2 separate regions of the Homo sapiens genome follow, and region 2 is linked to region 1. The links are contacts of gene promoters, found by promoter capture Hi-C in blood cells and fetal thymus (Javierre and others, 2016). All regions are on one chromosome and are shown on one strand. The core of a region is centred on a gene start or on the middle of the fragment in contact, and the rest is flanking DNA. Distances in the headings are between cores, read along the strand shown.

Evidence for each region. The method cuts DNA at HindIII sites, captures the fragments that hold promoters and counts their contacts. A CHiCAGO score of 5 or more calls a contact.
Region 2: a contact is called between a fragment that was not itself captured here and the fragment with the promoter of ALG14 in region 1, in 1 of 17 cell types (naive CD8 T cells). The highest score is 5.9, in naive CD8 T cells.

The regions. Positions count from the first base shown.
Region 1 is chr1:95,070,786-95,074,595 of GRCh38, reverse strand. ALG14 (ALG14 UDP-N-acetylglucosaminyltransferase subunit) reads left to right here and starts at 1,645. Exons shown (of 4, transcript NM_144988.4): 1 at 1,645-1,833. The coding sequence starts at 1,698. RefSeq lists enhancers at 1,524-1,883, 2,124-2,203. The HindIII fragment of the contact is 2,572 bases long and covers 1,307-3,810 here.
Region 2 is chr1:91,018,305-91,022,114 of GRCh38, reverse strand. ZNF644 (zinc finger protein 644) reads left to right here and starts at 80. Exons shown (of 6, transcript NM_201269.3): 1 at 80-125. RefSeq lists silencers at 1-90, 421-490 and enhancers at 1-273, 274-823. The HindIII fragment of the contact is 702 bases long and covers 900-1,601 here.

The sequences.
Region 1 (3,810 bases), core at 396-2,895:
GGGCAGATCACCTGAGGTTAGGAGTTCGAGACCAGCCTGGCCAACATGGTGAAACTCTGTCTCTACTAAAAAAAAAAAAAAAAAAAATAGCCAGGCATGGTGGTGCATGCCTGTAGTCCCAGCTACTTGGGAGGCTGAGGCAGGAGAATCGCTTGAACCTGGGAGGTGGGGGTTGCAGTGAGCCAAGATTGTGCCACTGCACTCCAGCCAAGCGACAGAGTGAGACTCTGTCTCAAAAAAAAAAAAAAAGAAAAGAAAAGAAAAGAAAGAAGATTTGATGGAAGACAATTTGGAAAGTGTTGTAAGGTCCACGGACTCTACTCACAAAGTCTCCCAAACTTGCTTGCTGATAGGAATGGACACGCTGGTTACATAAGCTAATCCCAGGTGCCCGATCCCCGGAAATTCTGATTCAGTGTTTCCTAATGGACCCTGGGAGTCTGCACCTTTAATAACACATTCTAGGCTCCAGGTAAGTGTGGTGATCAGGCAAGTTTGAATTTAGCAAAGGAATACAGGATGCAGTACTCCTGTCCAGCAGGACTCAGATTTCTGGTTTCTGATTCTAGATCTGACGCTATTCCACTTGGGCAAGCAGTTGCACCTTTCTGAACCTTTTTACTCATCTGTATACCTGTTCAATATAACCTACAGGTAGGTCTATGGTGGACCGAAGGCAAATTATATTTGGGGTGAAGGGGCTCCTGATCTTAGTATTTTATGTTGTCGTAATGTGGATTAATTAGACATAATTAATTTATTAACAATTAATTAATTAGACATAAGCAAAATTGAGATTGAAGGGGGTGTTGGCAGATCATCATTTTGGCTGAGGACATGAGAAACACACTGGAAATGCTTTGTGATAAAATTAACTGAATATTAATTGTAGGACTGTGCCTTGTCTATCCTGCTACCTAGAGCCACTGAGCTTTGCAATCCTCTTAGGAGTGTGGCTTACCTTTAGGTGGTCACCCTCAACTACTCTGGTCACACTGAGAGCTGTGAAAACCTCGAGAAAAGTTAAAAACATACATGTTGGGAGACAGGGGGTTTGGATGAGGGCCCTAAATTCGATGTTTAAGCCTAGGGTCCTTACTGGCGAACACTTTCAGTAATGTCTGTGTGCAACAGAAACATTTCTCTTGGCATTAAAAAAAAAAAAAGAAAGAAAGAAAGGATGTATTCCCTTAGCTTCAGGTGGCATTCACGAAGTTGACAGAGCCAGAACACCTCCTAACTGGGGAGTTTCGGGACCTTTAGGGCGCAGAGACTGCCTGACCTCGTCGTGGGCGTAAATCAAGCTTCCCCAGCGCTTAACTTTACAATTTTCAGCTTACGCTTGGCTGCAGCTGCGCACAATCCGCGCAGAAGCAGGGGTTCCGCTGACAAACGTGAACGTACAGAACGTAGAAACCTTTTAACGCTAATATGCAGTTTCCCTGTATGGCTGTTGTGCATTATTAATCTAGGTATTGCGTATTTAGTTTAGGAAACACGAATACTACATGATAAATGAGGTAAAATGGATTGTGACTGGGACCTCAGCTTCTCCGTCGCCTCCACTCCTCCCAGCTCAGGAAAGACCAGCCCACCAAGACGTGCGTCCTCCGCGTTTGAGTCGCTTCGGCACCCGTAGTTGTGAACTTTGACAGCGGCTGGTCCCCGGAAGTTGGACGCATGCGCCGTTTCTCTGCATGGTGTGCGTTCTCGTTCTAGCTGCGGCCGCAGGAGCTGTGGCGGTTTTCCTAATCCTGCGAATATGGGTAGTGCTTCGTTCCATGGACGTTACGCCCCGGGAGTCTCTCAGTATCTTGGTAGTGGCTGGGTCCGGTAAGTATCGAGGAGGCGACTGTCGGACTTGGGTTGGTCACTACAAACCCCAGAGTGCACCGCGACGCTCTTCCCTGGTACCCTTAGCACTTCTTGGAGTGTTGCATGCAGAGATTTGTAGTTTCTCTGCCTTGCCGGAACCGGGCAGTCCAGCCAGGGTAGGGGCTGGTTTGCTGACGCGGCCCAGAGGTTTTTTTTATGACAAGTAATTTACACTTGTCTATAATTAAGACTCTCTGTAGCGTATATTTTTCAAACAATTAGTGAACAGAGAACGTAGAAGCCTTTTGATGCAAACATGCAGTTTCCCCGTATGGCTGTTGTGCATTATTAATCTAGGTATTGCGTATTTAGTTTAGGAAACACGAATGCTACATGACAAATGAGGCAAAATGAATTGTCACATTTATAAATATACAAAGTCCAAGAGGATAAAAACAATGATCTACGGGCTGTAGAACAATACACACGCGGTGGCAGAGTGTGAGCAACACACTGACCTGTCAGGTAATACAATCTAAATCCACCAACTCTGTAGGTGCTTACAATTTTAAATACACATATTTGACAGGGACAGACAGACACACACAGACACAATGTAAACATTTGGGTATGGCAGGAGATTGCATCCAGATAGAACATGTATAGTATGAGTAAATGTACTAAGTTTATGTTCAAGTATAACGCATTACTTTATTCACTTAATCTGTTTTGAGCTGTTAGAAAGACCAAACACTAAACTAACCTCTGGAAATAACAAAACTGACTAACATTACTTGCCACGGAGTGCTGACTCCGTGCTAAGTCCTGTGAGAGATGCAAAGATACAGCAGTAAATGAAATAGAGAATACAAAAAAACTAACAGAAAATAAATCAAAATGAGTATTTGCCACAATGAGATAAATGCTATAATCTTGTAATAATTGTGTAAGAAGTACAAATTGCTATGGCAGTCTTCAGGAAGGGCACTACTTTATCAGGTCTTAAAAAACAGACAGCTTCCTGGAAGAAATGATGCTAAACTGAAACTTGAAAGATGACCCAGAATTAGTCAGATGAGGGACAGCCAGGGTTTCGAGGGCTGGGAGGATGTGAAAAGAAGGTGATAACACTTGGAATGACCAGAGTTGAGAGAACACTATCGTGTAGAGTTCAATGTAGGGAGGTAAACTGAGTCCAGATTGTAAAGAGTATTTAAAATCTTGCTTTTTTTCTTTTTTATACAGAGTCTCACGCTGTTGCCCAGGCTGGAGGGCAGTGGCGCAGTCTCAGCTCACTGCAACTCCACCTCCCAAATTCAAGCCATTCTCCTGCCTCAGCCTCCCGAGTAGCTGGGATTACAGGCGCACCACCACACTCAGCTAATTTTTGTATTTTTAGTACAGACAGTGTTTCACCATGTTGACCAAGGCTGGTCTTGAACTTCCGACCTCAAGTGATCCTCCTGCCTCAGCATCCCAAAGTGCTGGGGTTGCAGACGTGAGCCACCCCTGGCCTAAAATCCTGCTTTATAAAGCAATTGCTGCTACTCCACTGTTGATATCATGTAGGGGTTAAGACCACAGGCCTCTAGGTTGTCATAACACCACACATGAATCACATTTCTGCCACTTACTACCTTGGGGATCTCAGGCAATTAGTTAACCTCGCTGAACCTTCTGTTTCTACATGGGTTGAGAGAGGACAGGAGAGATTAAATAGGATCATATTTAAAGTGTTTAGGCCGGGCGTGATGGTTCACACCTGTAATCTCAGCAATTTGGGAGGCCGATACAGGCGGATTGCTTGAGCTTAGGAGTTGGAGACCAGCCTGGGCAACATAGTGAAACCCTGTCTCTACATTAAAATAAATAAATAAATTAGGTGGATGTGGTGGCATGCACCTATAGTCCCAGCTATTTGGGAGGCTGAGGTAGGAGGATCACTTGAGTCTGGGAGGTGGAGGTTGCAGTGAGCTGAGATTGTGCCACTGCACT
Region 2 (3,810 bases), core at 1-2,500, 4.1 Mb after region 1:
CTGGAGGCGAAAAGCGGGGAGCGGAGGGGGGCCGCTGGAGCCGAGTAGCGTACAGAGCGGCGTGTGACGCGGGGACGCCGCGTGCTCCCAACGTCGCCCCGGTTTGACGCACACGGCACCAAACTGTGAGTTTCAGGGGTTATTTGGTCAGATTCGCTGGGACCCGAGTGGGTTTCGGGCCTCTGGGCTGTGGCAGCGGCGGGACTGAGGGTGGCGGAAGAACTTGGGGGACCCGGCCTCCGGCTCTCGGGCCCGGGGAGCTACGCCCTAGGCTGGGTCCCAGCCATCCAAAAGGACGCATTTTGCCGCACAGGCTAAGATGGCGGCGGCGGCCGAGGAGGCGGAGTTGGTGCTACACAAGGAGCCCGGGCCCCGGGTTCGGGGAGGCGGCGGCCGCGGCGGTCGCTGGGGGCCACGGAGCCTGAGGTGAGCGGCGGCCGCCGCCGCGGGGCGGGACTCGGCGGGGGGATGGGGGGGGGGCTTTCCGCTGCGGCGTCGGAGGATCCGGTAGCGGACACAAAGGGGCTGAGCTGGGCACTAGACTTGGGGGTTTTGTTTAGTCACATGAAGCCGAGCAGCCAGTGAGCAGTAGGGGGAAGGGGCCGAGATCAGGCGGCTTGGGGAGCCTGGCGGTCGCCATTGCAATGCACTGAGTAACGGGGCGGGCCGAGAGCAGTCACCAACCCCTCTCGTTGAGGCTGCTCGGTTGTGGCCAGAAACGCTGGCTCTGGCATTAACTGTCTACACCCCTCCCCTTACTTGGGACAGGACCGCATAGCCCTCCCCTCCCCCCGTCCTGCAAGATCTTATGCGGCTAGGTGCCTGGGAAGTAACAGCAAGAGGTAAATCGCTCGAAGTGTTTGGGTTGCCAGGGGCTTGGTGGGTGTCCAGCTAAAGCTTTTTGCCTCTCCAGGTCTGATTCTCTGGCCTTTGTGTCCCTGGGAAGTTACTCTGCCAGAGGAAAGCAGGTGTGCTCCACTTCTCCCGTGAACCTGAAGATGAGTTGTCCCAGACTCTTCTCAGTGATTGGAAACTTAGGTGGTGGAGCTAAAGGTTACTTGTTACGAGACTTCTACAGACAACTCTTGTTGGGATCCATCTATGGTTTAGCAACATTAGTGGAAAAGTTTTCTTGAATATTGACTTTGAATATAAAAACGTTTATATTTAGACTTCAGATTTTGTGTGATCATCAAACTCAACGAGGGGATAAACATAATTGGGGGCGAATGATGGTCTTGTCTTGTTAATAATTTCAACAGAAGTATCACAACACCGCCGACTATCCTGTCCAGTCCTAATTCCACGCTTGTTGCATCTGGATGGTAGATTTGTTTTAATTGTGTATTCCCTCCCTGCAGTAGTTTGCTTTAGTTGTAAACATTTTTTGGTCCCATGAGAAGGAAAACATTTCAAAAAATAGACAACTAAAGTTTCTCAAAGAAAGGAAACCTGGCTGTTTGCCTTCAGTTGCATGTGTAAGTATCTAGGGAACTTGATGGCAGTAATATTGCATTTTGGTAGGCTTGCTAAGAAAAACCTCGTTTTTATAATAAGGCTATAATCTAGCTTAGACATTTTAATTGGTGAAGCATAAAGCTTGATTAGTATTAATGCAGTGGTATGTATTGCTTTTAAAAGTCTTACAATTTCTAACAAATTAAAGTTATACTGCAATTATATCATACTTTGTGTTGGTATTAACTCATGAAGTACAAAATTTTGAAACACCTAATGTTTTGTGTTGGCAATTAACAGAATTCCTTGGTTGGAGGGATATTTAAACACATTAGATCACTGTGTAGATCTCTGTGTTCAAACTGAAATTTGAATTTTTCAACATTAGTTAACTTTCATTTCCTTGTTCTTTTCAGATATATATTTTCTCTTTTTTTAGCTTCTAATACAGAACAGTCTTGTATTAATGAATAGGAGATGCATTAACATTAGCAAATGTATTCCTGGATCATAAAGTTTTACAGTGGAAGCAATATCAAAGAACAACTGCTCTTACCCTCCTCTTTTACAATATATTGAGGACCAGAGATGATTAAGTTAGTGGCATAATGGAAAATTGCCTTTCAGCCTCTACCCATTGCTGTTTGTATTTGTCATATTGCTGGGATGAGAAGGTGAATATCTACAACTAATGGTTAAAAAAACAAGGGAATGTTATTGAGAATACTTGTTAATTAAATATTGTTAGGTTCATGAGAACTTCTGTGACAATAAGTTAAAAACTTTCATATTGGCCTGGCACGGTGGCTCACGCCTGTAATCCCAGCACTTTGGGAGGCTGAGGCGAGCAGATCACGAGGTCAAGAGATCGAGACCATCCTGGCTAACATGGTGAAACCCCGTCTCTACTAAAAATGTAAAAATTTCCTGGGCGTGGTGGTGCCTATAGTCCCACCTACTCGGGAGGCTGAGGCAGGAGAATCACTTGAACCCGGAAGGCAGAGGTTGCAGAGAGCTGAGATCGTGGCACTGCACTCCAGTCTGGTGACACAGCAAGACTACATCTCAAAACAAAAAAACAAAAAAACTTTCATATTCTGTGGTTAACTTGGTTTTTAAAGTGACTTTCAGTGAAACAAAATCAGGTACAAAATACAGAAATATCAGATAGTTTCAGAGCAATGTTGCTTTTGAATTTTAAGGTTTTCCAAATGCAGTCTTGACCCAGAAATTGAAAAATTAAAAAACAACAACCAGGGACTTGATAAATTTCTTTGAAAGTTTGAAATAACTGCTGTTATTGCCAGTTATTATGTAGGAAAAGAAATGAGATCAATGCTGAAAATAATGGTGTCTTTCATTTTGTAATAGTGTTTTGGTTGGATAAACGAATGTGCCACTCAGAATGTTCCCTTTCTTTAAAACAACTTTTTAAGACTACTACTTCTACTGAGTGGTACCTCTAAGGTCTGTTAGGAAATTGAACAAGTAGTGACAGTCATTTATGGTGGAACCCTATAGTGATTTTTAACTTCTTTGAATGTCAGATTTAGCAAAAAGTTAAATTGTTTTAAGGTTTTAAAAGTTTTTATGGGTCATATAAGGTGCTTTTAAATTACTGATTTTTGTTAGTTGATAAGCTGTTTTATAATTTTCAACATTATGTGAGTGGATTTACTTACACTTTCATTTTGTGAAAATTAGAGTCACTTTCAGGTTATTTGTAGTTATAAAGTGGTCTGTCACCTGCCAACCTTAAACATTTTCCAGTTTTAGTTTGTCATTCAAGTTATAAGAGTGTTTTGGTTGAATTGAGACTGTTAATGGGTAGCAGGAGGAGAAAAGAAAGTTTCAAAGAGAATAGAAGTGGTGGGATATCTGCAATCTAGAGAAAGGTCAGGTCCATTTTTTTTCTGTCATCCTAAATATTGTTTTTTAGTGTTACTTATTTAGACCATTTTCTCAGGATGTGATTCTGGAAGGAAAAGTGAATCTTATTCTTGGGAAGGCTTTTCAGTCAGGTCTTAAGACAATTGTAGCTTGCAGCAAATGGAGAAATTGGCATGTTGAGTTATCTAACCCTGATTTTATAGAGCACTTGTTTTAACCATTTTTTAAACTGTTTTCTAAATGTTTTAAATTAGTAACCTTGTAAAATAAAACGAGAATGAAGAGTGGATACTGTAATACTATGGATACATATTCAAATGAGCTTTTATTTACACTTATTAATCTTTCTGGTAGAGAGAATGTCTATTTCGTATATGGAGAATCTGTAAATATTGAGTAAAGTTGTCAGGTATAGCATTGACTGAAGCAGTTCTAGAAGTGGTGTTTTTGATTCAGGTTTAT